Linked DNA regions of Homo sapiens: all the other regions are linked to region 2. Evidence: promoter capture Hi-C in 16 types of primary human blood cells and fetal thymus (Javierre and others, 2016). All regions are on one chromosome and are shown on one strand. Each heading gives the region's core, a stretch centred on a gene start or on the middle of the fragment in contact. The rest is flanking DNA. Distances are from core to core; before and after follow the strand shown.

Region 1 (4,211 bases), core at 1,113-3,612, 2.8 Mb after region 2:
ACACACACACACACACACACACACACACACACACACACAGCATTCAGTAGGGAAATGCTATTTATTGCTCTAGGCTAACTGGTCATCCACAGGGGAAAATATGACACTACCTTTTCCCCTCCCACCATGCAGAAAAAACAAAAACAAAAAAGAACACCAGATGGATCACCATAGATGAAAAAACAAAGCTGGAGCTGAATTATCCAATTCAGTAGTCCATAGCGACATGATGCAAATTAAAACCTACGTTAATTAAAATTAAATTTAAAAATTCGGCTACTCAGTCACACTATCCATAATTCCAGTGTTCAATGGCTACATATAGCTAGCAGTTATTGTTTTGGATATTGTCAAATATAAAATATTTCTACCAGTGCAGAAAAATGTTTCGAACAGTGCTGGGAGATATTTAGGATAGAATCTTTATGACCTTGATGTTGGGAAGCATGTACTAAACAAAAAACCACAAAGTAAACAAACAAAAAATCACAATGGAAATATAGCTAATAAGTTTAGCTAATTCATAATCACATATCAAAAAAGACTGTGTAGAAAATGAAAACGAAGGCTTTAATCTGAAAGGTTTCTGAAATACATGCAGAATATACAGAATATATAACACATATAAAACAATTAGAAGATAAAACAATCACAGAAAAATAGACAAAAGATTCATGAGGTGCTTCATTCTCGTTGATGAAATAAAAGATAATTGAAGTCAAACATTTTATCAATATATGTAGGACTGAAATGTTTGACCAAGTTCTGTGTTCTATTTTAAATTACCAAGAGTACTCGGGGAACAACAACCTACGTTTTTTCAGCCTGGAAGAAAGACTACAGTGGCTTACACAGAAGCCCAGCAACATATAAGTAGGTTGAGAATAATGTTTGAACATGTTATTAAATAGATACTTCTAATGTTAGCTTATCCTTCATTAAAAGATAGTTTTTCTAGCTCACTTAATAATTTACCTTTACCTTATTTTGAGCACACAGCAGAATACTTGGGAGGCCCACAGTGCATTCACACCACGTTTCACTCTGAGTGTAGAAGTTGACAGTAACTAAGGCATTAATTTTATATTTACTTCAATTAGAAGAATCAGAGACCACAAAAGTGTGCGTGATTGGAGGGTGGAATGGAAAAAGTAGACAGAATTATAAACATATGAGGAAATACTGTAAATATAACTAAAATGCATAATTTCCTCAAAACAAAGATAGATTTCCATCACTGGAATTCATGAATAAGTATTACTCAGCACCATCCCACATCCCCACCCCAACCCCCCTACCTAAATAAAACCGTAGACATGATTTTTTAAAATCATACTTTCTTAGCATATAAAATTTGAAGTCCTTGAAGTGTTTATAAAGACTTTATATTTTAATAATTGTTAAATGTTAAAAAATAATGTTTGTATGCCTTAAAATTCAAAACAAAACTATGTTCATACCACATAATCTAAGTGTTTTGCCTCTGAAGTTCCTTGTAATCTAAGAATGACAGGAAAACAATTAGTAGCCTGGCAATTCTGGTACAAATTGAAGGGCATTAAATGGTGCACAGAGAAGTAAGGCATTCAAATCAGATTAAATATTAGGAAACATATGACAATGACTACTAATAATTAGGAAGAATCCACACCATAAACAAGGATCCTTGCTCAATGGATGGAGAGTGAATGATGGGTGGTAGCCTATAGTCCAGGGAATCCAGAAATCATCACAGCCATGATCACTTTACAGTAGTCAGACTTCAGCTTTCGGATGGGGTTCAAGGACTGCTCTATCCAGGAAAGAAGACTATAAACAACATGGCAGTGCTACAATACTCACAGGGATTGGGAGACAGATTTCTACAATCAATAATCAGTGTGAGGAGCAGTCATGAGTTAACCCTAATAACAGAGGAACATGAAATTCAAGCTCATGAATGCAGGCATTTAACTTACCAAAAAAATAGCAGTCTAGAGAACAGTGGTGGAGACCCATGGATAAACCATAGTGCACCAAGTCTTGCCTTAGACTTGTTATTTAAAAACACTGCTAAAAATGCAACTGTCCAGTGGGCTGTTTAATTATATATTCTGCCTCAAAAAAAGATTGTATTTGGGCTTGAAAATACAATTGATGGGCCAACTTTGCATAGCTAAGGAAAATAGAAGGCCATAAGCTCGGACATTGGTGTGAAGGATAATTTTTTTAAGTACTACTGTGATTAATAAAAACTATAAATATTTCTCCCAGTTTGGAGTGGGTGAACTCATGTGCCTAATTTTATTGGTTTCTGATTAATACTCCCATATGCTTCCCTTTTGAGCCATGTTCTTATCGTACATTTGATTTCTCTTCCTCACAAATGCTTGCCTCCTACTTCCTCCTCTGCTACACAGGCTCTCAATCATTTCTTTTGCCAATTTCCTATTTTCTGTTCCTTCCAGTGGAGACACACAATGTCTACGCTATCCTGCTGTCTCGAGGATGAAAATACAGGCACCATTCTTTTCACGAAACCAAGAACAGGAGTGACTAGAAAGGCCTTAGTCATCAACTTTCCAGGCTGACAGAAATGCAAAAATAAATACTATGACTTCCAAATACCACTGCATGCCCTGAACACACAAGCAAGGTCAATTGGTTGATACCTACTTCCTTAAAATTAATTCTAATTTTTTTGCTGTCTTCCTCTTTTGTAAACATACCTCACTGTAAATTTTTTTTTCAGAGGAAAGGGTTTTTATATGAAGCAGTAGGTAATTCCCAAGTCAATCAGTTTTGCTTTGCATCTAGAATCTCAACAATGAATCTACAATACTCAGAGTTCTTCACTATGGCAAAACAGAATAACATGAATATCCAAACCTTTTTCATAGGCAGGGAACAATGGTTGCAAAAAGCAAAATCCACACAGTGCAGTTTTTAAGAAAAAGAGGAGAAAAAAAAAACCACACAGTATCAACACAGAACTCAGCTGCAGAGTGTTGTTAGGCAGCTGCCCTCTCTGTCTCTATAAGGAACAATTCAGTTGCTATTAGCATCATCTAAGTGCTAACGTGTGGAATCTGGGGTTAGAATGTCTAGTCTCAAACACCATCTCTATTATTTACTAACTTTGTGAATTTTAGTGAGTCACTTAAAGCCTCAGTGCCTTGGATTGTTTTCTGTAAAAACTGAAGTAATAATGGTCCCTATCTCAGGTGTATGGATTAAAAAAGGTGACACATGTAAAGTGTTTAAGATAGTGCCTGGGACAGTAGATAATCAATGTAAATCATTATTATAATTGCTTATTTAGAACATATGTCCCATTCTTCTCCTTGCCTAGCAATTTATTCCACTTGCACATGCCAACAGAGCCACCAGTTCAGAGTTAACAGTATCTCACAACTGTAGTGCCCATAACCTCTGGCATACTCAGTCCATGTCATGTGAGGTACACATGACCACCTTCACCTGGTCTGTGGGTAGGAACAGATTATCTTAAAATCTGTCAGCAGGAAGTCAAAGACCTGCCTTTCTGGTGTGAATGTTTCTAATTTATAGATTTATAAACATGTAAATGACACAAAGAATTCACATTACATGTATTTTCCCTCTCAAGATAATATTAAAATAACATTATGAACAAATGAAGCCAGATGAGGAAAAATGTTCTGCTTCTAAGGTGATGAGGTCACTGTATGCCTGCAAACCTTTTAATTGAAACCGGATAATCACTTTTCATGGATTCAGTAAGATTAATTCACTGGGTAAAATAATGGGCTAAATAACCTCCAAGATTCTTTGATTGCACGATTCAATTTTACACAGAGATTGTGTAATACAATGCATGATATTAAATTGAAATGAAGTCTTTATTGCAAATCAGGAATGTAAATTTCCCTTTGTTTGACTCCTACAAATCCAAAAAGGAATCTTGTAAATCAGATTAGGTAAAGGCTAAATGTTCATTCGAATAAAAACTATTTGGTAAAATGTTCATGTTAAAGTGTGAAGTCACTCTAAAAGGTTAAATGCTCACATTAGATACATTTAACATTTAGGGCTATTAAAATAGTTGAGAAATAAAATAGAGTCATGGAAATTTTCTTTATAATCAGGTGTTGCAAATGGGAAAATACAGGAGCAGAAAAATCACAAAATTATATCAGCATTAAACTTTATATAGAAAACGCAGCCAATTGCCAAGTAAAACATAATTTCTA
Region 2 (4,725 bases), core at 1,124-3,623:
GCCAGAGGTGGGCAGATCGCTTGAACCCAGTTCAGGAGACCAGCCTGCCAAAACCCCGTCTCTACAAAAAAAAAAAAAAAAAAGGCGAAAAATTAGCCTGTCGTGGTGGTATGCACTTGTAGTCGCTGCAACTCAGGGGGCTGAGGTGGGAGAATCACCTGAGCCAGGGAGTTCGAGGTTGCAGATCGCACCACTGCACTCCAGCCTGGGCCACAGAGACCCCATTTCCAAAATCAAAAAACAAAACAAAAAAATGTAATAAATGGCAATTAAATTCCCAAGCTAGACCACAACAGCCTATAGAGGAACCACAGTTTTTGTATGAATTATTAGAACTGCGAAGTCAGTTCTACAAATTATTGTTGAAATTACAAAATAGTGTTTGATATTTTCTAAATGAGAGCATTTCTCTTATAATTAAAACAACTTAATTCTTTAAAATTCTCTAAAACAGCCTAATTCTTTAGATTTACTTGTTATAACTTTCAACAGAGGATATAAAAAAAATGAAAATCAATATCAAAACAGACTATTGACTATGTGAAATAAAACATATCGTAACAGCCATCTTTCCAAAAGTGGCACATCTGGTTTCCATCACTGGGTAATACTTTATTAAAGAAATACAAGATGGAGTTTGTTGAAAACTGATAAAACCAATGCACTTACAGAAAAGTCAATATTCCTTACAAGCCTAAAATCCAAAATTTATTGGTCAAGTTCTAATTACATAATCTTCATAATAATAAAGATATATTTAAATAAGTATGTAAATATGAAATCCCTCGGTGAATTTTTAGGGCAAAGAGTAAATGAAATTGCAGGTAAAACAAACTACATTAAATAGGAATAAAAATAAAAACAGCCGGGCGCTGTGGCTCACGCCTGTAATCCCAGCACTTTGGGAGGCCGAGGCAGGGGGATCATCTGAAGTCGGGAGTTCGAGACCCGCCTGACCAACATGGAGAAACCCTGTTTCTACTAAAAATACAAAATTAGCCGGGCCTGTTTTTGGTGGGTTTTTTTGTTTGTTTTTTTTTTTTAGAGAATTAAAATGGCATTTTAAGAGAAAAAGCAAATAGTAACCAAATGTTAAATATTTCACCTCAAGAACTATTTGGAGAATTAAATTTCCATGTATTATTTACTGGGATCTCTTTAATAATACCCTTCTGCTCTGACATCTTTCCCATACATAATATAAAACCATCCTTTAACCCTATTTTACAGCTGGAAAAAAAAACCCGAAGCTCAAAGAGGTTAAGATTTATTGCTGGAACTAAATTCAGGTGTATTCGCTCTGACTGCAAGCCCAACTTCCCACTACAGTACTGCTCATAACAAGGTTTAACATGATTATGTGGATCTTCAATATTCTTCATAAATTAGGTGGCTCTGGATAGTTTATTAACACGTCAAAGGATTGATACAGAGTTAAGCTGAATGATATATACCAGAAGGAAAATTGTTTCCAATTCAGTGATATGCCATAAACGTGAGGAGTACAGGTTTCAACAAGATGGGTGGATACTCGTTTCGGGGAGCAACAAACAAGTTTTTCAATTTTGGTTTGGCCAGTTTCAAGTAAGAAAAAGGCCAGAATAGGCTAGTGCACAGTACACCTAGCTGGATTAACTGAATAGGCTCACTTCATGAACTTCACTCCTAAACTGGGAGGACAGGAGAGGGGAGAAAATCAAAGTGCCTCAGCCCTCTCCAGTGGAAACTATAAAAAGCCCTTGTGGAACAACCCACCGACTCACAAATCTGGAAAGGTGAGGCCTGAATGAAAATTAGGACTGGAAACTGGGGTGAAGCACTGAGTCTAACAGGACCAGGCATGCTCACAGTGCCTTCTCCTGACGTCACCTGAAGCTTACCTCTTTGACAGGTGGGAATTTCTTCTTGCACTCCAGTGACAAGGCGCGCAAGTCGCTCTGCATATTCTCCAGCAGCTTCTTCACCGCCTCGGGGCTGCTGGTGCCGGACATGATCCTCCAAGGTCCCAGCCAATTTCCGAGAGGTACAAACAAGCTCTGGCACGGTCAGCTCCTTAGGGCCACAGGCAGCTCCCTCCCGGTGTCTCTGGTCCTTCAGCAGCCCGCTTCTTGGGCCCTGGGCTGCGAACCCGGAGCCTGCTCGAGCGTCCCCCAGCAGCTTCCCCGCAACACCTCTGGCTTTTCTCGGAGGCGCCCCCCGCAGTCGCACCGTCCCGCTAGGCTCCGCCGACTCTGGCCGAGAAACCCACAAGGCGGGCAGGTCCCTCCGCTGCCGCGGGGCCCAGCCACACCGGGTGTCACCAGCCAACCTGGCAAGAAGCTTCAGCGCCAGCTCCCCAGGCCCCTAAGACTCGCCGACGCCATTAGCCGAGTCGCCCACAATTCCGAGCGCTGCCGGGACACGTCAGCCGCACTTCCGGGTACCGTGGCCTCCGCCACCGCCGCGGCCAACCCCGGCGGCAGGCCGTCGGCGGGGCGGGGCTGGGGCTTGGCCATGCTCGGGGCAGGCGGGATTCCGGGTGGGCAGCGATTCCCACAGCCCCACCCCCGGAATCAAGTAGGCTAGACAGGGTTTAAGGCGTCAAGATTCGCTTCGTTTTCATTAACAAGTGCCTGAACAGAGCCCCCGAGTACTCCTTGGCATATCTCTTTGCGTATGTTTGTGTTAAATTGTATTTCGGTGTAAATAATTTGTTTCCCTGTAGATTAATCTTAACGTGTCTCCTCCCGCTTCATTTCGAATCTCTGGACTAGTGGCCCCAAATCAGTGGCTACCTCCTGTTAATATACATTTTTTTTCTTTAAACGCAACTGGTGCACTTACTGTGGGGTAGCCTCTTATTTTCCTAATCTCTAAAATGAGACTACCCTCTGCTCCACGCATTCCGCTGGCCTCCCATCTCACTCAAAGTAAAAGCCAAAATTCCTCCAATCACCTACCAGGCGCTACGAGATCTGTCCCGGCCCCTTTACTGGCAGATGCTCCCAGCTAAAAGGAGAGTTTCGCGAGTTGGGCTGCCGGTTCTTCCTCTTTTTAAATCTTATTTTGTTTCCTGTGTATCTCCAGCACCTAGAACAGTGTCTGGCATATAGCAGGTAATCAGTACATACTTGTTGAATGAATACCCTTCTATTATAAAATCAGAGTTTCGAGGCTCAAATAAGGCACAGATACATAAAAGCCTTCATCAGGTCTGAAGTGCCAAATAAATATGAGGCAAAAGCCAAACAGAAAAATCTTCATCTGTATTTCCCCAAGATCCAGGTTGGTCTACTTTTTCCCCAAGACATTTTGCAGCTGCTGGTCAGAAAGCAGAAAATGAGGGAGGAAAAACCAGAAACAGTAGAGATGAAGAAACCAACACCTTCAGACAGCTGAGCTTATGACATGATGGAAGACAGTGAGCCATGAGATTGTCAGTGGATAGCGCTGTTTGGCTGTAACAGAGCTACTTTGTAAGCTAAATAATTTTATTTTATTTTTCCTTCTGATAAGAAGCAAAGCAAGGATGGATAAAGGGGACAGATGAGGTAATAGTAGAGAGCTCCTAGGGCAGTAATTTTGATCATTTGTGCCTATTACACAACTTCTGGGAAACTTGACACCTCCTATGGTATAAGCTTTATGTATGAAAACTGGTGAATTTAGCAAAAAAGTTCAAATGGAATATATGGCAGACATTATTCTTGAGGTCTCAGGGAGCTTGTAAAAACGAGGCGCTTTTTTTGGGTGGGGGGTGGAGACGGAGTCTCACTCTGTCACTCAGGCTGGAGTGCAGTGGCGCGATCTCCACTCACTGCAACCTCCACCTCCCAGGGTCAAGCAATTCTCCTGTCTCAGCCTCCCGAGTAGCTGGGACTACAGGCGTAGGCTGCCACGCCCGGCTAATTTTTTGTATTTTAGTAGAGATGGGGTTTCACTGTGTTGCCCAGGCTGGTCTCCAACTACTGAGCTCAGGCAATCCACCTGCCTTGGCCTCCCAAAGTGCTAGGATTACAAAGGCGTGAGCCACACCGCAGGCCTTTTTGTTTGTTTGTTTGTTGTTCTTTTTAGTAGAGATGGGGTTTCAGCATGTTGGCCAGGCTGATCTGGAACTCCAGAGTACAAGTGATCCACCCACCTCGACCTCCCGAAGTGCTGGGATTACAGGCATGAGCCACCACACCTGGCCAAAAATGATGCTTTAGTAATTGGGCTAGTGATATAGGATCAAATTCTCTGACTTTCACTATGTAGCCAACTTTTCTTTTGGATTTTTTACTATTGGTAACTTTGGCATGATTAACTCAAAATCGTTAGAATCTTTTACATCTCTGTTCAGAGTTGAGGACATGCAATTGGAATTCATTGATTGAAAACAATACTTCTAATGATTTGAAAAGCCAAATTTTAAAAGTAAGGTGTAGCACCTGGGTGCGGTGGCTCACACCCATAATCCCAACAATTTGGGAGGCCGAGGCGGGTGGCTCACCTGAGGTCAGGCGTTGGAGACCAACCTGACCAACAAGGCGGAACCCCGTCTCTACTAAAAATACAAAAATTAGCCAGGCGTGGTCACAGGCACCTGTAGTCCCAGCTACTTGGGAGGCTGAGACAGAAGAATTGCTTGAACCCAGGAGACAGAGGTTGCAGTGAACGGGGATGACACCACTGCACTCCAGCCTGGGCGAGGGAGTGAGACTCTGTCTCAAAAAAAAAAATAATAAAATAAAATAATAATGTGTA
Region 3 (4,421 bases), core at 1,902-4,401, 2.3 Mb before region 2:
GAGCCAAGATCGTGCCACTGTACTCTAGCCTGGGTGACAGAGCGAGACTCCGTCTCAACAAAAAAAAAAAAAAAAAAAAAAGGTGCCTGAAGCCAGACCAGCCTGGCAGATGCTGAGGCCCAGTCTGTACCCTGAAGAAGTGGTCCCAAGGAAAGAGAACCAAGAAGAGAAGAGGATCTGCATACACAGAGAACACTCTGAGCTCCCATTCCATCTTTCTACCACTCATCCCCAGAATAACTCTGTTGCATAATTGAGCAAACGTCAAGGTTTTTAAATTTTACAATAGGAGGTCTTTCAGGTAGTCTAATACCACTCAAACGAGTCCTTGTCTTGAGAATATCAAATCAGCCTTGACTTGCCTGAAATTCTCCTATGTCAGCAACACCTTCTCCTAAGCATTTTCCTCCAATTTCATAAAAATACATAATTCTATCCTGAAACAGTGTAAGACTCATTGGAATGTCAAGCTGAAACCTGGTACAGTGAAAACCACCATTTGTTAGCTGATTATATTGGAAAGATGGATTCAGAATACTTCAAAATGTCAGCACATGATGTGTAAAAATGGCAGTTGTCAAAAAATCTATTTCAATATACCACAACCTCCATTAGAACTATTATACTGTAATTTTTTATTTGCTTCTCTGACTTTATTCTTCTGAAAGCTCACTGAGGATACTGTATATTTTTCTTCTTCTTTGCATGTTAGCACCCAGCAGGTACTCAACACAGAACTTTTGAATTTATAAACAATTACATATATACATGTACACATTTAACATTTCAAAGTACTTTCAATTCTGTCTTCAAAACATAGTTCTAAGAGGTAAGTAGGGCCAATACTATTGTCCATTTTACAGATGAAAAAGCAGAGGCACAGAAAACCAGAATGATGGCTGAAGAGAGGTGTAGAGATGACTTTAATGTTTGGTTTCAGATTAAGGATAAAATGACATGCTTCTATACTGGTTGAAATCATCCAGCAGAGATGGAAAACCTGATGAAGGAAGAGAGACAAGAAGAAGGATGATTCCTTGAGTAGGGAAGACAAGATGGATCCAGGGTACCCCAGAAGAGCTGAACAGTTCATCTCGAGGTTCAGAGGAATGCCACCTATACAGGTGGGAGTATGAGGACATTCGCTTTTGATTGCTTACATTTTCTCTGTTAAAATACACAGCAAAAATCACCAGCTGAGAGCGAGGGGAGAAAATAGGATGTAAAAAGGGAAAGAGAGAGAGAGTATGAACAGACTAAAGAAATATCATAGGATTGCTGGTTGTACCAAGGGTGTCTGTGAGGCTGGTGGTCACATATTTAAAGAGAGTCGTCCCCATGATATGTGTTTCTGCAGCTGCAGTTAGCTAGGTAGATGCAGAGACAGAATGTGCAGAGACTTGAGTTTAATCAGGCTTGGGGTTTTGCAAGGTGAAAATGACAAAGAGTGGAATAAATAAGTTAAATATGTACACAAGTGAGTCATTATGCTGATGACCATAAACTCTAAGCAGAGTTAGTAAGAAACCAAGCACTGGATGTTTATTGATCACTGCTAGGTCAAATATGTTGTGCAAGGTGACACAACAGGAAGAAAAGAGATTCAAAGGAGCTTGTCTTCAGGAAGCTGTCACTATTAGGAAACAGTCCAACAGTTCCCAAACTTTTCTGCACATTAGAATAGCCCAGGGAGCTTAAAAATCACAATGTTTAGATCACACTCCATGCCAGTAAAAGCAGAATGTCTGGGCTGGGGAGCCAGGCATTAATAGCCTTTTTAAATTTTTCAAGTGATTCCAATATGCAGCAAAGCTTAAGAACACTGGAATAGTCTTTTTTTTTTTTTTTTTTTTTTTTTGCAGAGGAGAATGATACTTGAAGATATATGTGAAATTCCTAAAAGTAAGCATTCAGTATAAGTCATATTATCATCTTATATTTTGCTGTTGACATAGGAAAAATGCAGTTGATTGTCCTACCAAATTAAAGAGTCAATTCTTTTGGGGGAAAAAGTATTTCTTTTAGGCTTGTATTTACACTTCGTATAAAAGAACTTCAAATCGTGAGGTCTTAATCTTGATATATTGCTTGTTACCATATTCCCAGCACCTACAATCATGTGTGGGAAATAGTAAACACAGAATATCTGTTAAATGAATAACGCTTTTGAAAGATATAGTCTCTAAAAAATGGTTTAATGTAAATGCCTCTTTTTAAACTATAAATTGCAAAATATCCCCACTTCTAGAAGTATTCTCTCATAATATAACTAAACACAAAAATGGTCACAATACATATACATGGTAGTTCCAACAAAAGTTCCCTTTATTTCTTTCATATGGTGTCTATCTGATGTTGTATCATTTTTAGTCTTAAAGGCTGTCTTACCCTTGTGGCAATACAGAGAACATAAATAGTATAATACTTCTCTCACGTAAGCTTAAGGGAAGGAGCTCCCCCTGCTGGCTGTATATATAGTTTTCTCTTGCCATAACTGACAAGAGAAAACAAACAAAAAACTCCTGAGTCACTAACCAGCTGAGTGAGTTTCAGCAAAGTTCAACTTTTCCAAGTTTCCCTTTGCTCAACCAAAGGTTGTGGGTAAATGGAGATCATTTTTTAAAAATTTCTAGTAGCTCCCAATTACCGTGACTAAGATTCAGTTTTCCTACAAATCAACCCCTTTATAACGAGGTCATAAGAAACACAAGTAAATTATGACAAAATGAAAAAAAAAAAAAAACTCTTAACTTTAAGATGCTAAAGAGCTTAAAGAAAATGAGGAGAAACTGTTGCTAAAATATGCTGTATGCAAGCTCAATCAGTTTCTTTCATCTAGTCATATTCTAAGTTATTTCAGGGTAGACCAGGCTGCTAATTATATATCAAAAACATACCTAAAACGGTTATCAATATTAACAAATTTGTAATTAAATTCACAATTTTGCAGGCAAATTCCAAATTTAAGGCAAATCTACCCTAATCTAAATGATAACTTATTTTTGTCTCTCAAAAGAAATGAGTTTATGAAAAAGGAAAAAGCACATCTGGGTAAGACGGAAGATTGAAAAAAAAAAGCATCTAACTTTGGTCCCCACCAAAACCACACTAAAAATATTGTAAAGATAATTTTTAAATCATAACCCGCAAGGACCAGAGTGAAGGACAAAAAAAAAAAAAAAGGAGCGTGGAGAACAGCAATGAATTTTTGAAGCTGGAAAAGCAAACAAACATAAATTGACAGAGGATCCTAGAAAGCCAAATCCCAAACTAACAGGAAAGCTGAAATCCAACTTATGTTATACTACACAGTCCACAAGAGACTTGGGGATTGGCAACCAGTTCCCCAGGAGGCTTGACAAGAAATATGGGGAGAAGGCTGTTGAGAAGTAGTTGGATCCCTCGTTCCTCTCTTCATAAGGTTGGGCAATTACCACTTTCCCACCCCTGCAAAAGTTTAAGAGTCTTATTTTTGAAGAGAGTGATAACAGAGTCCTTGGACAACCAGCTGAGGGTGAGTACCTTACCTAAAACAGGGACTCAGTGGCCATATGCATACTGAATGCAGAGACTCCCAGCTCTCTTCACCCCACTCGGCTCCCAAAATACCAGCAGCCAGACCTTCACCCTTCGAGCAGGAGATCAGAAGACTCTTCCTTGAAGAATCTGACCAGCCCAGATGAAAGACTTGAAGATACTGACCTGAGGGGTTCCACAACAAAGGGCCCATCCACATGGCACTTCAATGAAGCTCAAAGTCAATAAGCCCTGCCAGGGAGCCCAGAGTTCAAGTCAGCATTTAGACTCCCACACTTACTTATGAGCAGACAGCCAAAGAATACCAGACATCTAAGGAAAGCTTCTAAATATAATACAGTTTTGAAAGTTTCTTTCCTCCCTGTATAATCTTATCTCTTCCAAATTGTTTTCTTTTGTCTGTTTTAGTCTCTATCATAATATCTTTAGAGCAATAAGAAAATATATTGCATCTATGAAACAAGAACAGGATACCATATAAAAGAAACATTCAAATAGCAACCCAAAAAGATTTCTCAATAACAGGACTGGAAAATAAAGTTGAGGTAATCTCCAAGGAAATAAATCAAAAGAACAAGGAGTTGGAAAGCGAGAAAGAGAGAAAACGTTACAGCCAGGTGCAGTGGCTCACACCTGTAATCCTGGCACTTTGGGAGGCCGAGATAGGGGGATCACTTGATTGAGCCCAGGAGTTTGAGATCAGCCTGGGCAATGTGGTTGAAACCCCATCTCTACAAAAAATACAAAAATTAGCCAGATGTGGTAGTGTGCACCTCCCAGCTACTCAGGAAGCTGACATGGGAGGATCACCTGAGCCCCAGGAGGTCAAGGCTGCAGTGAGCCACGATTGCACCACTGCACTCCAACATGGGCAACAGACGAGA
Region 4 (4,909 bases), core at 1,899-4,398, 2.8 Mb after region 2:
TCACATACATTTTTACTTACTTCATGAAAATCATTTCAACCACTTTCTAATGGCATTAACAAATAAGAGTCTTAAACCTCGCAGGTTTGCAGATAATTACAAAAATGTCTCCAACTGTCAGGAAATTATGTTTTCTATCCGTTATAAAGAAATTTTGAAAGGGGAGGGAGGAACGAGAAGTAAAGTTACAACACACATTTGTTGGTGAGAAAATAAAAATCAAATAAACAGATCATTAACTTAGAAATTTTTTTGCAATCAGAAATTAGTTAAGTACCAGTTATTTATGATATTATATTACAGGTCCAAGGTAACTTCTAAAACTAAAACGTAAGACTTTATAACTGTTTTCATTTTTGTTTTTTGTTTTTGAGAAAGAGTCTCACTCTGTTGCCCAGGCTGGAGTGCATTTTCTTGGCTTACTGCAGTTTCCACCTCCAAGGCTCAAGCAATTCTCGTGCCTCAGCCTCCCAAGTAGCTGGGATTACAGGCATGCGCCAACATGTTCGGCTCATTTTTGTATTTTTAGTAGAGATGGGATTTCATCATGTTGACAAGGCTGGTCTCGAACTCCTGACATCAAGTAATCCACCCACCTCAGCCTCCCAAACTGCTGGGATTACAGTCATGAGCTACCGTGCCCGGACAAGACTTTATAACTTTTGATGCGCACTAAAGCCAGGGTCTAGGTTGTCGTTAACATCCGGCAAAGTTTCACATAGTTTTGCTTTGCTTTGTTTGTATTTTTTTGTTTTTTTATTTATTTTGACCACCCACCTTTACTAAGTTCTAAATGAAATAAATTCTCCTGTTATATTACTATTTTGATTTTATGCCAAATGTTATCAATATTTTAAGCCAAATATTCAAACTTATCAAATGCTGTATCCATATTTCCGATTCAAAATCTGCCATATGCTCAGAGTTGCAGCAGGACAGATAATGCTTTTTTAAAGGGTAACCTAAGAGTTATCTCCATGGATAATTATGTTCTTTTGTGAACTGATGTAGGTCATTGATGAAATAGTTTCAAAGTCACTCTCCAAAACTGAAATACCGATGTGACATTTGGTAAATTTTCAGAACCTATTGAAGTGTAACACCACGATTTTCTTCAAGAATACCACATAGTTTGCCAAAATTCCCTCTGTGCTGTGAAAAGACTGCTAGAAGACCAACGTTTTCAGACTGTTCAGCTTGATTACACTGGTGTGGTCCCATTTATCTACAGCTATTTTAAGCATCTTCTTGAATTACAGTAAGCTATATTGTAAATCTAATTATATTTGCCCACAGGGAAGTAAGTACATAAGAAGCCTGCTCTGTAATCTGCTTAATAAAAGGCACTCCAGTTTTCTTCATAGCATTTATCAAAAATTGTCATTATACAGTTGTTTATATTTCTAATGCCAGTCTCTTCCACTGTAACTTCCATGATGATATATGGATATGTTACATATGCAGTACCTAGCAGTGCCTAGAGGGCCAATAAATGTTTGATGACTAAATGAACAAATGAATAACTATGTAAGAGACAACTAGATTTATAGACATATATGCTTACCACTTTCAACTTGTGCCGAAAACTTATATGTATATTAGAGACTCTTGGGGTCATAGTGCAGAGTAGTGTAAGTACAGACTTTCAATTCAAATGGAATGGATTTAATGTCAGAAATGTTATTAGTTCTATGATCCAAGACAATTGGATTGAGCTTTCTTACCCTCTGTTTCCTCATCTGTAAAATGTGAATAATTACATTGGAGTAAATATTAAAGTTAATGCATATGAAAGTATGCAGCATAGTCTGTGGCAGAAAGTAAAGTCTAAATCAAGGAAGTAATATCATTTACCAATATTTTATACAGAATCTAAGTGAATTATATTAATCTAAATTAATTATCCAAGTGCTTTTAAAAATTGACAACATAAATGTATTCTGAGGATATGCTGGCAGTGATAACTCATCAATAATCTATGGCTCTACAATAAACTTTCCAACATCCTTTGTGCCTGTATTCCCAATTATTATAAGGTTTTTCAACAAGTTACTTTCAACTAAGTTTCAGAATTCTTTACTCTGTGTACAATTTCCAAATTCTTCACAACAATTATGGAATCTATCTCAACTGAACTCTATAAAGACAATCTTAATTGATGGTTAGTCAATTCTCTAGTCTAGATTGCATGTTCTTCCTCAATCAATTTTTATTTCATTATTGCCCATTCATTCTATAACTTTGACTACTATCACAGTGGGAAAAGTCATCATCACTGAATTGTGCTTTGTCTTCTGGACTATACCTTCCTTGAGGCTCTATCTTCTGCATGAAGAATCAGATCCATCTTCATTCTTAACTTTTATTCATCCACTAATGCAATGTACATTTACTGTGCACCATCTATAAGACAGGTACTGCATTAAGCTTTAGAGTTACAAAGATTAACACATAAAATCCTGAGTATCAAAAAGGTCACAATCTAGTAGGAGATGCAAATGAAGAAACATAATTATGAAAAATATGGTAAGCGAAATAAATATGTGCATGATTTTATGGGAACACTAAGAACGGATATCTAACCACCCTGGGGTGAATGAAGGGCAGAAATAGGTTCCAGAAAAAAAGAATGGTTAGAATAATTCTTAAAGGATAAGGAGGAATCAATGGGCTAACAGGACTATAGGTAAGGAATTCCAAGCCTGAGGGTCAAAATGAAGCACGGAAACAAAGGATAATGAATCTGTACAGGAAATGCTAACAGAGCAAATTCATTTTGAAATACTTGTTAGATCATCTATGCAGTTCAAAAACTTTGTCTCCAGAATGTAAATGTATAAGAAAGGACTTAATTTAGATTGTGTTTAAATTGAAATGAATTAGCATTATAATTTTTTAAATTGATACTTTTTTTGTAACACTATATAAAGCAATATTAGAAAACATATGGTTTGCTAGATGCTACTCAGTGTTTTAGGGCACATAGATACAGTTTTGATAATCCAAAATGGTGAAGTATTACCACTATTATACATCTTCCCACCAAGGACAAACTCTACACTGCCTTATTAATGACATCTAGGAAAGGGCCACAAAGACATTCTATAAAAAGAAAGTGACATACATTGAAAAGTACAATGAATAATGGTTCTTTAAGCCCTGGATTGTAGAAGAGCATCAGAATTGGCTCCCTTCTTTCACTAACGGAAAATGTAAGAAACAGTGACATCCAATAATGTTAAGCAACTCTCCTCAAATTAGAAATATCCATGTAAAATGGCTCCCTTCAATGTAAATATTAGAAAAGTTACAAAGGCAATATTTTGTACAACGGACTAATTTTGTTTCCTATGCTGATACCTGCTAAAAAAAAATAGCCCTAGAAACTATTGCACAATTATCATATATATTTGGACTCATCAAAAAAGTATTGGCTTATAAATAAACTATTTTTATATCCTATCAAAGCAGAAACTTCATTTTTCATTCAGCATGGTAACCCCATCAAAAGCAAAGTAGGCTGTAAGAATTGTTTTTGAATGAATGAATAAATGAATGCATACCATGTATAAGAATAGACTCTGGAGAATTTGGCAGCAAATGAACACACAATGTCTCTGCCCTAGTAGGGAATACAAATACATTAAAAAGACTGCTTTGTATCAATTAAATTTAAAAAGGATTATAAGAATAAGACATGGTGGAAATTGGTTCTTTAGCTTGTGTGATAAAGGAGGCCTCTGGGATGGAAGAGTTAGTGATAAGATAGAGATTTACCCAGGTAACTACTTTGTATGTGCTATTTCATCCATTTCTCCCTACATCATTTCCTGGCAGCTATCACATCTCCAATTTATAGATAAAGCTTAAACAGTTAAATAAGATTTTTCAAACAATATGTATGTATAGACATATAAATATATATATTTTTAATTTTCTATACAAATGTTGCCTTCAGTGTTTTGTTCAACTAGAAACCTTTCTAAGCATGCAATTTGACCACATAAGTCATTTTTTCATACATGCAGTTCCTCTTTAAAAAACCTACACAATATTAGTTTTAAAATTCTTAAGGGAACTTTGGCAAAACACCAAAATATTTTCTTTTTTTAATGTTTTAGAAAATACATTTAGAATATCAGACTCTTTATGAGGCTTCCAAGATGAAGGATGGGTATTTTCAGTTTTTAATACATGGCAGAACTTGTTTTGGATAGGGGCTGTGAAAAACTTTCATTGTATCTGTCAATCAAATGGTAAAAAAGGAAAAAATCATTGAAAAAAAATCCTACACAATTGCAAACACATGGGATGATAAACAGTTTTAGTAGTAAACGGTGGCATGGATCCTCTTGTTATCTGGATAGACAGAATTCGAGACTATTTTAGGAAAAGCACTACTTTCTTTTTCAGAATGTCACGTATTTAATTTCTCATAACAAGCAAAAATAACAATCCTAATGCTTGGAAAAGTGAAATTCTAAATTATTTTTTCTCTGGGGGGGCATAAAGTTCAAGTTAACCCAAGATTTAATTTCAAATTATAAAACAGGGACATTCACCAAAATTTAAATAGGACACAAAAGTTCTAATCATGAAATGTCCCCCAAAAGTCAAATATTAAAAACATTAGAGTAAATTGCAAATTCCCTTTCGTTCTGCTTACTAATTGTGTTGAGCCTAATGTCTTCTTTGTTTCTAGCAACATTCCTGAGTTTCCTTACAACCATTTAAATTTGGCATGTGGCTGAGAAATAGTTACAACTGTTAATGCTGCTCCAAGTACTGGGAAGGTGGCATGCCTAGAGGGAACATGAAAGCTGTGTACCCCCACCCACACCATGTCCTGTGCACCAATTCCGTGTGACTATTTCTGAGTTATATCCTTTATAATAAACTGGTAACTATA
Region 5 (4,931 bases), core at 2,278-4,777, 2.7 Mb before region 2:
TGTGTGTGTGTGTGTTTGTGTACATACTCAGATATATATGAGCTAACTGAGAAACAAAATTAATTTTCTGCTATGTGCTAAAATATCCATTTGCTACTAAAGGGTTTTTTCTATTCATGTCATATTCAGGGCAGAACAGCAATTGGTGCATACTTACTACCCAATTAGTTCAGGAGAGCTGAACTACACTCTTGCATAGTTTTACAACCAAGCCTTGTTTTTAAACTTTAGCTTGCCATTTGATAGTAACATAGCTGTAAAGATGAATTCAGAAGTCATCTTGCAAAAGCATTTTAAGTAAAAAGCTGTGCAAAAGCACAGAGCAATAAATCTAGCACCCAGGAAAAATTCAGTGGTATAATTTTAAACTATACCTTGACATAAAAGAAAATGAAGACATATGAAAAGTAATTCATGATGGCTTCCATATGATAGATGCATTATTCTATTTTTAGAGATTACCTCTGTTACTATAACTTTTATAACCTTTTTGAAGAGCTAATTTCCTAAGAAATATATTTTTTAAATAATGATATTAAACATGCAAAATAAATTATTAAAACCTAACTTATTTTCTTCCTGGTAAACTCTTGTTTAAAAAAATTTTGGCAATATTGTTAATAAAGAATATTATTAACTATATATATAATATATAATATATAAACTGATGCAGTTTAAAGCATAGATTATTAAAACAGTGAAATCCAAAGGTTACTGCTCAACTATACTGTTACTGGTTCACTTTAAAATCTATGTTAGGGCAGGGCACGGTGGCGCACACCTGTAACCCCAGCACTTTGAGAGGCCGAGGCAGGTGGATTACCTGAGGTCAGGAGTTTAAGACCAGCCTGGCCAACATGGTGAAACCTCATCTCTACTAAAAAATACAAAAATTAGCCGGGCGTGGTGCCATGTGCCTGTAATCCCAGATACTTGGGAGGTGGAGGCAGGAAAATCACTTGAACCTAGGAGATGGAGGCTGCAGTGAGCCGATATTGCACCACTGCACTCCAGCCTGGGCGAGAGAACAAGATCCTGTCTCCAAAAAAATAAAAAATAAATAAAATCTATGTTAAAAATAAATCTAAATATGAAAATCAAAATCCAAAGTTATAAGCAAATAACTGTTATAACAATTTCCACAATTAGTATTAAGCTATGTTCCCATATTAAATGGCAGCAATTTTTAATGTATAATCAATACAAGATTAAAATACATCTTTTTTAAAATGTTATTTTAAGTTCTGGGATACATGTGCAGGATGTGCAGGTTTGTTACATAGGTAAACGCGTGCCATGGCAGTTTGCTGCACCTATCAACCCATCACCTAGGTATTAAGCCCAGCATGCATTAGCTATTTTTCCTGATATTCTCCCCACCCCTAGAATATATCTTCATTCGAATTTAGATTATATCATTAGTAATAAAATTTTCACAAACAAGTTAGTAGTACTTATTTATTAACAAATACATTTTGGAGAGTTCCAACAGTTTAAGGTGTCCTTCTCTTTTAAACAACTTACAAACTATATAATTATCTTTGCACTGAGGCTATAAATTTCCATTTATATAACATATTTTTCAGATAGGGAAAGTTAATATTGAATAATCAATGAGCAAGGAGAAGCAAGCTTTAAGAACTTCCCAACTCTTAGGAATCATGAAAATAATTTTTCATGATTATTTTAGTGTCCCTGAAATTATCAAATGCATCATTTCCATTAAAACATATATGAGTATAAAGGGAAAATATGAAGTTTATTCAAAAGGAGCAAAAAAGGGAGATCAAATGTATGAAAAGTTCTTTATATCCTAAAAATGAACAACAGAAAGAACAAGTTGTAATTGGTAATACAAATCAAAAGATCACTTTCCCTACCAGTTTTGAGACTGCAAATATTTTAAAAATTAGAAATAGTTTTAATATTGTATTATTGTTCTATGTATTATATATTATAGTTTGCTTCATAGCAGATGCCCCCTCCCCCTTAATTAATCTAAAACCTTAAGGATAAATAGTTCCATGTGATTCATAATTGTTGAATGAATACAACTTTTCCTAAAGTTGTTAGGTTTCATAGATTATTCCTGCCACTTCTAGGATTTTATGAATCTATACTTGTCACAGTTTTCTGAAAATAAAGACAATAATAGTAGAGAACATATATCAAGTCCTTATTTATACATATTAAAAGGCAATCTAGAAGAACAGTTAAGAGCCACTGTCTGAGTTCAAATACTGCCGCTTCACTTACTAGCTACATGACCCTGGGCGAGTTACTTCTCAGTGTCTCCATTTACTTATAAAATGGGATAAGTACCTACCTCATAAGGATTAAATAATAATTGTTTAGCTCAGTGCCTGGAACACAGTTAATGCTACGTAAGGGTTAGTTATTATTATTACTATGTGCCATGTATGAGTTTTACTTTACACACATTACTTCATTCTCATTTAACCTATTTTTCATATGAGGATATTGAGGTTTACAATGGCTAAGCAACTTGCCTTAGTGAAAAAAAGCTAGTAAGTGGAAGGGCCAATATTGAAGCCCAGGTTCTCTGATAGCTATGCCAGTGTATCCTCAAACTAGTCTCCGTGGATATATCTGTAGAGATTCACAAGTTTTTCCTCATTATTTTTAATTTAAATCATTCTAGGGAAAATTTTCAAATGAAAAACATTTTCATAGAGTAGACTTTAATTTCTGAAATCATCAAACTGGTATATGCAAATCCCTGGCATTCACGGGAATATTCTCATAGATCTAGGATTTTTTTTTTTTTCTTACAAAGCAGTCAACTCGTAAAACTTCAAACATAACATGGAGCTTTCATTCTTCAAGAATGAGAGAATAGGCCGGCTGCTATGGCTGACACCTGTAATCTCAGCACTTTGGGAGGCGAAGGTGACAGGATCGCTTGAGCCCAGGAGTTCAAGACCAGCCTGGACAACAAAGTGAGATCCTGTCTCAACAAAAAATACAAAAAATTTGCCAGATGTGGTGATGCAGATCTATAGTCCCAGCTACTCAGGAGGCTGAGCTGTGAGGATTGCTTGAGTCCTGGGAGGTTGAGGCTGCAGTAAGCCATGATCACACCACTGCAATCCAACCTGGGTGACACAGCAAGACCCTGTCTCATATTGAAAAAAAAAAAAAAAGAATGAGAGCAACAGCTATTTTTCAAAATCCTTATTCCCCATATTCATTTTAGATACCAAGTTCGGGACCTTTTGGCTAGTCTACTTTAAGAAGTAAAAATATTTTTTAAACGACAATGACATTAAAACATGTTACTTCTTTGTAACAACTGGTCTTGATTTTAAAGAAAACAACAACACATTAAAAAAACAAACATTTAAAAGTATTCCCTTAGTAAACAGTACTAGTACTCACATTCAGCACCAGTCTCTCATCTTTACTCCAATTCTGTATCTACAAGAGCCTACAAGAATTTTTCACTTGAACAACTCAAATAATAAGCCCCAAGTAAACTCATTTTCCCTAGACCACTTTTCCCCAAACAAGATCCCTCTTCCACATCTCTAATTCCTCCAATGATATTATCATTCTCTCAGTCATCCAGGCTCATGGCCAGAATAATCTTTGACTCCTATCTGTCTCTTATTCTCTATACTCAAAACCATATGTCTTTCTTCAAATGAATTTCATTCATAGGCCCAACTCCATTCCCACTTATCCACCTCCTTCAGGTGTCATCACCCTACTCCTTCCCTCCAACCCTATCACTGTCTAAACCATCACCTGTTTATCCTTCTTAAAGGACCAATTCGATCATGCTTGTCCTCTGCTTTATAACCTCCATGAATTGCCATTACTCAACCTACAGAATAAAATCCAAATGTTGAATTTAGAACTTTTGATCATGTAAGACTGATCATTTGAGAATTTACAGTGAATTCTCCCCTTTTATAAAAGTGTGTAACCACATAATATCCTGTATGTTTCTTAGCCATTTCCTATTACTGTTATTAGTGGTGTGGAGGCTTCTACAGAAATAAGATTTCTTTTATATATCCTTACCAGATACTAAGTAGATAACCAATTACCGAGTTAGATACTACCAGTTAACAGTGCATATATCCTGAGTACCTGATATGTGATCATTTATTCAACAGATATTTGCTGAATAATGAATCTGTGCTGAAGATACTAATGTGACTTCCATCTACTAAGAGATTTCCATGTGCCAGACAACACTAGTTTAGATGCATTATCTCACTTAATACAAGTCATCCTCAGATAGTATTATCAATCTCATTTTTAGTATGAGGCAATTATATCTCTAGTATAGTCTACTTTAAAAAGTAGAGCCAAAATCAGAACTGAGTAAAAAGTTTGTACTCTTTAACACTGTATTCTACTCCTATAGAAATATTACTCTAAAGAAAGGAGCTGTCATCTATTTGGCATGGTGGACACACAAATATAATACTTTGTCCTAAATACTATGAAGGATGCAATTAATGTCTTATTTGAGCACAAAATGATGGGCCAAACTCTAGGGTAAAAAGATGGAGAGTCAGAGATATCTGGAGATGACATGTTTAAGAATGAATCACAGTTACAAAATAAAGAAACATTCCCAAAAAAGGGGATAACCTGTGCAAAGGTAGAAAAGCACAAATTTCATGACTTACTCAGAAAACAGCAAACAGTTCAGTTTTCTAGAAAGTAAGTGTGATAAGGGAGACTGGTAGAAAGGGCAAGCATAGTCAGATCATGAACAGTTTAGCCAACGAGTTTAGATTTTGGCCAATAACTAAGAGAAAGCCATTGTGTAATTTTAAGCAAGAGGGAATGATCACATTTGTGCTTTAGAAACGCTGCTCTGTACTGACAAATGGACTGGAAGAGCTACAGCCTAGAAGCAGGGACACCATTTTAGGTTACTGAAAGAGTTCAGG

Evidence for each region. The method cuts DNA at HindIII sites, captures the fragments that hold promoters and counts their contacts. A CHiCAGO score of 5 or more calls a contact.
Region 1: a contact is called between a fragment that was not itself captured here and the fragment with the promoter of MON2 in region 2, in 3 of 17 cell types (total CD8 T cells, naive CD8 T cells and total B cells). The highest score is 7.2, in total CD8 T cells.
Region 3: a fragment that was not itself captured here is called in contact with the fragment with the promoter of MON2 in region 2 in 1 of 17 cell types (activated CD4 T cells); the score reaches 5.2 in activated CD4 T cells.
Region 4: a contact is called between a fragment that was not itself captured here and the fragment with the promoter of MON2 in region 2, in 1 of 17 cell types (total CD8 T cells). The highest score is 5.0, in total CD8 T cells.
Region 5: a fragment that was not itself captured here is called in contact with the fragment with the promoter of MON2 in region 2 in 1 of 17 cell types (non-activated CD4 T cells); the score reaches 6.4 in non-activated CD4 T cells.

What each region holds. Positions count from the first base shown.
Region 1 is chr12:59,618,875-59,623,085 of GRCh38, reverse strand. The region is part of intron 1 of SLC16A7 (solute carrier family 16 member 7); the gene reads right to left. Among named protein-coding and RNA genes, the nearest start is that of SLC16A7, 25 kb to the right of the region's middle. The HindIII fragment of the contact is 4,935 bases long and covers 1-4,211 here.
Region 2 is chr12:62,464,474-62,469,198 of GRCh38, reverse strand. MON2 (MON2 regulator of endosome-to-Golgi trafficking) reads right to left here and starts at 2,373. Exons shown (of 35, transcript NM_015026.3): 1 at 1,881-2,373. The coding sequence starts at 1,991. RefSeq lists enhancers at 1-48, 1,717-2,216, 2,212-2,321 and a silencer at 2,352-2,671. The HindIII fragment of the contact is 1,301 bases long and covers 2,322-3,622 here.
Region 3 is chr12:64,794,466-64,798,886 of GRCh38, reverse strand. It overlaps a transcript of TBC1D30 not described here. Among named protein-coding and RNA genes, the nearest start is that of TBC1D30, 28 kb to the left of the region's middle. The HindIII fragment of the contact is 1,420 bases long and covers 2,442-3,861 here.
Region 4 is chr12:59,640,023-59,644,931 of GRCh38, reverse strand. The region is part of intron 1 of SLC16A7 (solute carrier family 16 member 7); the gene reads right to left. Among named protein-coding and RNA genes, the nearest start is that of SLC16A7, 46 kb to the right of the region's middle. The HindIII fragment of the contact is 1,438 bases long and covers 2,430-3,867 here.
Region 5 is chr12:65,176,074-65,181,004 of GRCh38, reverse strand. The region is part of intron 1 of LEMD3 (LEM domain containing 3); the gene reads right to left. Among named protein-coding and RNA genes, the nearest start is that of LEMD3, 9.0 kb to the right of the region's middle. The HindIII fragment of the contact is 3,785 bases long and covers 1,635-4,931 here.